Regions from separate parts of the Homo sapiens genome. Here regions 2 and 3 are each linked to region 1. Evidence: promoter capture Hi-C in 16 types of primary human blood cells and fetal thymus (Javierre and others, 2016). All regions are on one chromosome and are shown on one strand. Each heading gives the region's core, a stretch centred on a gene start or on the middle of the fragment in contact. The rest is flanking DNA. Distances are from core to core; before and after follow the strand shown.

What was found. Contacts are between HindIII fragments. The CHiCAGO score rates a contact against its expected background, and 5 or more counts as called.
Region 2: a contact is called between the fragment with the promoter of PRMT1 here and a fragment that was not itself captured in region 1, in 1 of 17 cell types (total CD4 T cells). The highest score is 5.1, in total CD4 T cells.
Region 3: a contact is called between the fragment with the promoter of RCN3 here and a fragment that was not itself captured in region 1, in 1 of 17 cell types (naive B cells). The highest score is 6.2, in naive B cells.

Annotation. Positions count from the first base shown.
Region 1 is chr19:49,246,193-49,249,058 of GRCh38, forward strand. All of the region lies in intron 2 of LOC107985340 (a long non-coding RNA gene), which reads left to right. Among named protein-coding and RNA genes, the nearest start is that of MIR4324, 61 kb to the right of the region's middle. The HindIII fragment of the contact is 8,311 bases long and covers 1-2,866 here.
Region 2 is chr19:49,675,756-49,678,621 of GRCh38, forward strand. PRMT1 (protein arginine methyltransferase 1) reads left to right here and starts at 1,516. Exons shown (of 11, transcript NM_001536.6): 1 at 1,516-1,561. The coding sequence starts at 1,526. RefSeq lists enhancers at 1,001-1,150, 1,155-1,886 and a silencer at 1,731-2,010. The HindIII fragment of the contact is 22,690 bases long and covers 1,182-2,866 here.
Region 3 is chr19:49,526,600-49,529,465 of GRCh38, forward strand. It overlaps RCN3 (reticulocalbin 3), which reads left to right and starts at 1,404. Exons shown (of 7, transcript NM_020650.3): 1 at 1,404-1,459; 2 at 1,868-2,115. The coding sequence starts at 1,874. RefSeq lists an enhancer at 1,320-1,898 and a silencer at 1,362-1,481. The HindIII fragment of the contact is 8,718 bases long and covers 1-1,744 here.

The sequences.
Region 1 (2,866 bases), core at 222-2,721:
ACTGATTTCCATCACTACATATAAGTCTGACCTGTTCTTGGGTTTCATAGATAATAGATTCACACAATACATAGACATTTGTGTCTGGCCTGTTACATTTAATATAGAACATCTTTGCTAAGCCCGAGGTCATAAAGATATTCTATGTTTTCTTCCGGAAGTTTCTAGTTTTGGCTTTTGAATTTAGGTCTTTGGTTCCTGTTAATTTGGGGTGGGGGTATGGTATGTGGCAGGAATATGTTTATATTTTTCTATATGGCTATACAGTAGTTCTAGCCCTGTTTGTTAAAAAGACTTTCCCTTACCCATTGAATTGCTGTGATATCTTTACTGAACATCAATTGGTCATATGTGTATAGGTGGATTTCTGTTCTGTTCTATTGATCTTTTGGTTTATCTTTAGGCTAATATAACACTGCCCTGACTACTGTAGCTTTATAGTAAATCTTGAAATTCGATAGTATGAGTCTCCAACGTGTTCTTTCTCAAGATTGTTTGGACTACTTTAGGTCTTTTGCATTTTTTTTTTTTTTTTTTTTTTGAGATGGAGTCTTGCTCCATTGCCCAGGCTGGAGTGCAGTGGTGTGATCTCAGGTCATTGCAACCTCCCTGCCTACTGAGTTCAAGCAATTCTCCTGCCTCAGCCTCCTAAGTGAAATTACAGGCACCCGATACCACGCCTGGCTAATTATTTTTTAGTAGAGATGGGGTTTCCTCATGTTGGCCAGGCTGGTCTCAAACTCCTGACCTCAGGTGATCCTCCTGCCTTGGCCTCCCAAAGTGCTGGGATGACCGGCATAAGCCACTACACCCGGCCGGTCCTTTGCATTTTCATGTACATTTTAGAATCAGCTTGTCAATTCCTCAACAAACCTGGCTGAGATCTGAATTGCCATTGTGTTGAATCTGTAGATCAATTTGGGGAGAACTGATATCTTGTTTTTTGAGACAGAGTCTTACTCTGTTACCCATGCAGGAGTGCAGTGGTGCGATCTCGGCTCACTGCAGCCTCTGCCTCGCAGGCTCAAGCGATTCTCCTACCTCAGCCTCCTGAGTAGCTGGGATTACAGGTGTGTACCACCATGCCCAGCTAATTTTTTTGTATTTTTAGTAGAGACAGGGTTTCACCATGTTGGCCAGGCTGGTCTCAAACTGCTGAGCTCAAGTAATCCACCCACCTCGGCCTCCCGAAGTGCTGGGATTACAGGCGTGAGCCACCACGCCCGGCCTACACCAATTCTTTGAATTCATAAACAAATATTTCCATTTATTTAGGTTTTTCTCTCAAAAATACCTTGTAGTTTTCAGTATAGAGATTTTTGAATATCTTTTGTTAAATATAGTCTTAGCATTTGATTTTTGAGGCTATTGTAAATGGTTTTGTTTTTAAAATTTCACTTAACTATGGTTTGTTGCTAGTATGCAGAAATGTGATTATTTTTGTATATTGGCTTTTATTTTTGTGACTTTCCTAAGTGCACTTATTCTAGTAGCTTTTTATTTTTGTAGATTCCCTAGGATTTCCTAATTACATGCTTATGACATCTGTGAATAAAGACAGTTTTACTTCTTCCTAGCCAGTTTCTATGCTTTTTATATCTTTTTCTTGCCTTCTTTCACTGGCTAGGAACTTCACTATAGTGTTGAACAGAAGTGGTGTAAAGGGATTTCCCTTCCCTGTTTTCAGTATTGGGGAAAGTATTCAGTATTTCATCATTTAGTATGATGTTAGCTGTAGCTTTTGTCATTGTTGTTAATATCCTTAACACAATGAATGATTCTCAACCGAGGGTGATTTCCCACCTCTTCCAGGGACATTTGGTAATGTCATATGACTTTTTTTTTTTTTTTTTTTTTTTTTTTTTTGAGACTGAGTCTCGCTCTATCACTCAGGCTGGAGTGCAGTGGCGTGATCTCGGCTCACTGCAAACTCCGCCTCCCGGGTTCACGCCATTCTCCTGCCTCAGCCTCCTGAGTAGCTGGGACTACAGGCGCCCGCCACCACGCCTGGCTAATTTTTTGTATTTTTAGTAGAGACAGGGTTTCACCATGTTAGCCAGGATGGTCTCGATCTCCTGACCTCATGATCCGCCCACCTCGGCCTCCCAAAGTGCTGGTATTACAGGCGTGAGCCACTGCACTTGGCCTGTCATGTGACATTTTTCATTGTCACAAACAGCTGAGTGGGGAGCGTTGATGCTGGCATCTTGAGGGTGAAGGCTAGGAACACTGCCAAGCATTCTAGGATGCACAGCACAGCCTCTCCCCACCCCAGCAAAGAATTTTCTGGGCAAAATCCCCATCATGTTCAGGTAGAGAATCTCTGCCCAGCACATGGAGGAAGTTCTGTTGTATTTCTAGTTTGTTGCAGGTTTTTTTTCCTCCAATAATAGGTGTTGAATTTTGTCAAATGGTTCTTCCCTTTAATCTATTAATGTAATAAGTTACATTAATTTCTGGGATAAAACCACTTGCTTATACTGTATCCACTTTGTTTGTGGATTAAATTTGCTAATATACTTTGAGACAGTCTCTCGTTCTGTCGCCCAGGCTGGAGGGCGTGATCTTAGCTCACTGCAACCTCCGCCTCCTGGGTTCAAGCTATTCTCCTGCCTCAGCCTCCCGAGTAGCTGGGATTATAGGCGCCTGCCACCACGCCCGGCTAATTTTTATATTTTTAGTAGAGATGGGGTTTCATCATGTTAGCCAGGCTGGTCTCAAACTCCTGACCTGAAGTGATCCACCCACCTCCCAAAGTGCTGTGATTACAGGCACAAGCCACTGCGCCTGGCCAAATTTAACTTTTAAACTCAGAAATGGGGCTATTTAGATTTTCTACTTGCATCAGTCTTTGTAATTTGTACCT
Region 2 (2,866 bases), core at 266-2,765, 430 kb after region 1:
ACAAGAGTCTCGCTCTGTCACCCAGGCTGGAGTGCAGTGGCGCGATCTCAGCTCACTGCAAGCTCCGCCTCCCGGGTTCACGCCATCCTCCTGCCTAAGCCTCCACGCCCGGCTAATTTTTTGTATTTTTAGTAGAGACGGGGGTTTCACCATGTTAGCCAGGATGGTCTCGACCTCCTGACCTTGTGATCCGCCCGCCTCGGTCTCCCAAAATGCTGGGATTACAGGCGTGAGCCACCGCGCCCGGCCGCCTGGCGTAATTTTTGTATTTTTAATAGAAATGGGGGTTTCACCATGTTGCCCAGACTGGTCTCGAACTCCTGATGTCAAGTGATCCGCCTGCCTCCGCCTCCTAAAGTGCTGGAATTACACCCGTGAGCCATCGCGCCCGAACCCTATTGTAAATTTTAAGTCTCAGGCGTTTGCCAGCGGCACGCCAGAGAGTATAGCCTGCGCGGAGGCCCAGAAACCAAAGAGCGAGCTCATTCCGGGATTGGAGAGAAGTGTGAGCAGAGGGAAGTAGAGGGATCGGGGAGAGGAGGGGCAGGACCCACGCATTCGGCCCTTTGCATTCAGCTTCATTCAACTAGGAACTTTTTCTGCAAATCAAGGAAAGCTTCCCGGAGGAAGTGGTGCCTAAGCTGTGCTCTGATTCACGTTTAGAAGCTGACCAGACAAAGAGAGGTGGGCGTTCCTGGCAGGGGGAGGGACTTGGCAAAAACCAAGTGGCTTGAGAGGGGTTGATGGTTTTAAAAAACTTGGAATGATTATGTCAAGGGCTAGGGATTTAATGTGTTGACGACGGACTCCTATTCCTCACTTGCTTCGGGACCCCAGCTATGCCCTTCCTCTCTCTGGGCCTCTCACCGATTCCGTTTTTCCCCCAGGTAATGAGCACAAGCTCCCTTTTTCCTCCAGACTCCCCCCGGGTTGGGAGGATCCACCGAGTGGACGAGGAGTGATAATTCCTTTGAGCCAATCGTTGGTGCCTGAAGCCCCGCCTTCTTCCCTACCCGTGGGCCAATTGCCGTGTTCTCCTTGAGGCCGGCCGCTTGGCGAGGGTGGGCCAAAGGCTGCGTGACGTCGCTTCCGGATAAACCAATGGCAGCGATTAGGAGGCGGGTCGTTTTGGTGATGGACAGGTGTTTCAAGACGCCCCTTTAGCGCGGGGCTCCCCGGGAAGCTTTGAGGCGGTGCTGGGTGTAAAGGGGAGGGCATTCCTGGTGGATTTTGCCCAATCACCAGTCGCGCTTCTTGCAATAGACGGGCAGTTTTCCCCATCCCGGGTCGACTTGAGGGGGCGGGATTCTGGACGCCAGAGTTGGCAAACCCCTGACCTATGATGGACGTATTCTCTAGCCAATTACTAGACGGTATTCTCAGACGGGCCGCCTCCATTGCCAATGAAATCTTCCAGCGGGGTCGCGGTAGGCGGGCCGTGGACCCTCTGGTATAAGGCGGTCCCGGGGGAGTGAGGAGAAAGGGGGGGTCTTGGCGGCCGGAGGAGGAGTAGGTGCGGGTGAAGATGGCGGCAGCCGAGGCCGCGAACTGCATCATGGAGGTGAGCGCTTGGAGCGCCGCCGTGGGCGGGAGGCGGCTTTGGGTCGGTGTTTCACGCCTCTGTGGTGGGGAAAGGGCTCTAAGTTGGCGATATGGGGTTGGAGGTCCCCCGCCGCACACGGGGGCGCCGCACGTTCCACATCCGGGGATATCGTTTGAGGTGACGGCTCCCTAGCTTCCAAGGGCCTTCGGCATCCGGCCTAGCGGAGGGTCTTATCCCCCCTCCCACGTGGAGGAGGGCTGGGGGCGCTTCCGGCCAGGCCCCCACGTGGCCGCTGCGCGGTGGGTGGGGAGGGGGTGTGCCGAGTCCAGTGGCCCGGCGGGCTCCACGTGCGGGACAAAGGCCCCGCCCCCGGCCGGGGAGGGGCGCCCAGGGGGGCGGGGAGGGGGTCCGACCCTCCTGACGCCCCCAGCCCTCCTCCCCGGGGACCTGGGCACACGCCGTGGGGTGTGATCGACCTGGGGCCCTCCACGATGTGGGGAGTCTCTTGGGAGGAGCAGTGCTTCTCAGCCCTTTACCAACCTCCTTCCGAGCTCCGGGGGCATCTGTTGGGATATCGGACCCGGTTTTGTGCGTTCTGGGTTAGGGACTGGAGGAAAACCAAGAATGGGGTCCCCCGCCGACCCCGTTTCCCCTCCCAGAATTCTCCCCCTCGCCCAGGGCTTTAGGAGTTGGGGGATGGGGCATGCCCCTGTGACCTCCCTCTGGGTGGTGGTGGGGCATCTAGATAGAGATTTTCCCATTAATAGGCGCCGTGCACCCCCTTGTGGCCATTTCTGGGTGTGTGGGAGGGACATCTTTTTCATGGGGCGTGTCCTGAAGCCCACCTCCCCTCGGATTTCTTCCTGGCGGGCGGAGGGAGGAGGGTATGTCCGCTGGGAAGGAGTTGTGGGAAATATGTAGGCTGAGAGCTTTACCCTACTGGAGCCGTTTATCTCCCCCGGGTCTTTGTGAGGGTGCGAGATGACCTCCTTCTTCCTGAAGCCCTGTGCAGGGTCCTGAGCCCTGGGGTCCTGAGAGTGGGTGCCTGAAATGGTTTCGAGTGAGGTTTGGTTCTCGTGCAGCCATGTGGGGGAGGTTTCAGTCTTGCGTTTCAAGCCCTCTGGGGCTGGGGTTGTCTGGCGGTAGTTTTCAGTGGTATTGAGAAATAGGCCCGAGTGGGAAACCCCCTCAGCACCTTTCTTCTTATAGGCATCCCCGCTAGCTTGGGAGAGCTGGAGGGAGGGTGCTTGGAGCCTAGTAGGTCATGGCCTGTGACGTGGCCCTTCTTGGAGACTTGGATAGTGGTCACATCTGGAAGAGATG
Region 3 (2,866 bases), core at 154-2,653, 280 kb after region 1:
CTGCCTCAGGCTCCCGAGTAGCTGGGACTACAGGCGCCTGCCACCATGCCTGGCTAATTTTTTGTATTTTTAGTACAGACGGGGTTTCACCATGTTAGCCAGGATGGTCTCGATCTCCTGACCTCATGATCCACCCGCCTCTGCCTCCCAAAGGGGTGGGATTACAAGTGTGAGCCACCGCGCCCGGCCTAAGGTCACTTTTTTTTTTTTTTTTTAAGACAGAGTTTTGCTCTTGTTGCTCAGACTGGAGTACAATTGCGTGATCTCAGCTCACTGCAACCTCCGCCTCCCAGGTTCAAGCAATTCTCCTGCCTCCCAAGTAGCTGGGATTACAGGCATGCACCACCACACCCGGCTAATTTTTTGTATTTAGTAGAGACGGGGTTTCACCATGTTGGTCAGGCTGGTCTGGAACTCCTGACCTCAGGTGATCCACCTGCCTCAGCTTCCCAAAGTTCTGGGATTACAGGCATTGAGCTACTGTGCTCAACCTGAGGTCATGTATTTTTAATTCATAACTTTTACAAATATTTACTGGATGACTGCCATGCCAGGCATTTTGAGGAATTCTTGGCTACTGTCTGACCACCTGAATCCTTGGAGCCGAAGAGGAGCGAGGAGCAGTGTTCACTCTTGGAGGAAATGGGATATTTCCTCCGGCCCCTTGATTCTGCTCTCCCTTTTCTTTTCTTTTCTTTTCTTTCTTTTTTTTTTTGAGACGGAGTTTCGCTCTTGTTGCCCAGGCTGGAATGCAATGGTGCGATCTCGGCTCACCACAACCTCCGCCTCCCAGGTTCAAGCAATTCTCCTGCCTCAGCCTCCCAAAGTAGCTGGGATTAAAGACATGCGCCACCACACCCGGCTAATTTTGTATGTTTAGTAGAGATGGGGTTTCTCCGTGTTGATCAGGCTGGTCTCGAACTCCCGACCTCAGGCGATCCGCCCGCCTCGGCCTCCCAAAGTTCTGGGATTACAGGCGTGAGCCACCGCGCCCGGCCTTTTTTCTTTTCTTTCGTTCTTTTTGTTTATTTTTGTTTTGTTTTGTTTTGTTTGGTATAGAAGTGTTGGAACGTACACCTCTTTCTTAAACCATCCTGACAAAGGGAAAGGGAAAAATACATTTCCCGTGAGGCGTTGTGACTAGAACAGCTGGAGGTGGACGGCAGAGTGCCGCGACGACTGCCAGGAGTTGTAGTTCTCCCCGGCCGCGTCACTGCGGTGTCGCCCACCCTTCTTCCCCGGGCAGGCCGCGGTTTCCTTTGTGGACGTGGCGAGGAGTGCCCGCGGCACCCCGTGCACTCATTGGCCCCGCCCCGTGAGACGCTCGTGCGAGCTCATTGGGCGGGGGGCGGGGCTCTGCGCTGCCAGAGGCGGGGCCTGACTGGAGAGCGGCCGAATTGGGCACATTTGCGGGAACGCAGAGCGGAGCGTGGAGAGCGGAGCGAAGCTGGATAACAGGGTAAAGGGAGTGGGTGGGGGGCCTCTGTCCAGGGAGGGCGGCTCGGGTCGAGGACCAGGGTCCGGACTGGGAGCAATGACGGGGAGCCTGCCTGACCTCTCGCTGGCCACAACTATGCCCTGCACCTTGCGTGGGATGTGCGCCACGTCTGTCTCTGTAATTCCCCCTGGCAGGTCTGGGACCCCCCTGAGACTCCGTCAGAAGATTCGGTCCTCCCCATAGGTGGCTTTACCTCTAAGCATCCCGCCCTCTTTTCCCCCATCGCCCGCCCTTTTTGAGCCCGAAAGCTTGCAGCCAACTTCCAACTCCCTGTCCTGTCCTAGGTAACCCCTCCACCCCGCCATTCTCCTATCCCGTGTCTGTCCCCATCCCTGTGACCCCTGACCCCTGGCCTTTGCCACTCCCCAGGGACCGATGATGTGGCGACCATCAGTTCTGCTGCTTCTGTTGCTACTGAGGCACGGGGCCCAGGGGAAGCCATCCCCAGACGCAGGCCCTCATGGCCAGGGGAGGGTGCACCAGGCGGCCCCCCTGAGCGACGCTCCCCATGATGACGCCCACGGGAACTTCCAGTACGACCATGAGGCTTTCCTGGGACGGGAAGTGGCCAAGGAATTCGACCAACTCACCCCAGAGGAAAGCCAGGCCCGTCTGGGGTAAGAGAGACATTCGGTTGGGGCGTGTCCAGAGGTGGGGCTTAGGAGAGAGACGCGGGGGTATCGACAGGGGTCAGAGAAATGGCGTGGACTGAACTTCATTTCTTTGTGAGAAATGAAATTCTACCTTCTATCCTTGGGAAAAAGAAATTAAGTTAAAATTGAGGCCTAAAGAGGACCTTTGAGACCGGGCGTGGTGGCTCATGCCTGTAATCCCAGCACTTTGGGAGGCCAAGGCAGGCCGATCACTTGAGGTCAGGAGTTCGAGAACAGCCTGGCCAACATGGTGAAATCCCGTCTCTACTAAAAATACAAAATTAGGCAGGCGTGGTGGTGGGCACCTGTAATCCCAGCTACTCGGGAGGCTGAGGCAGGAGAATCGCTTGAACCTGGGAGGTGGAGGTTGCAGTGAGCCAAAATTGCACCACTGCCCTCCAGTCAGGGCGACAAAGTGAGACTCCGTCTAAAAAACAACAACAACAATAAAAAAGAGGACCTTTGAGGGCAGCAAAATCTGGGTTAGATTCTGCCCCCTAAGCGCTCCTTATTCTTTTGTCCCAGACATCTCCCCTCCCCAAGCCTCAGTTTCCTGCTCTGTAAATGGCAGGGACTGGTGTGGAAAATGAGGTTTGGCCTTTAAGGAGCCCGGCCAGTGCAGGAGAGTGGCAGAGCCCTGAGTTTCAGGGTGAGCTGGGTGGAATGGAGCCCTGTCCACCCTCTCCGTCCAGGCCTGAGCGCAGGGGGGCGCGAT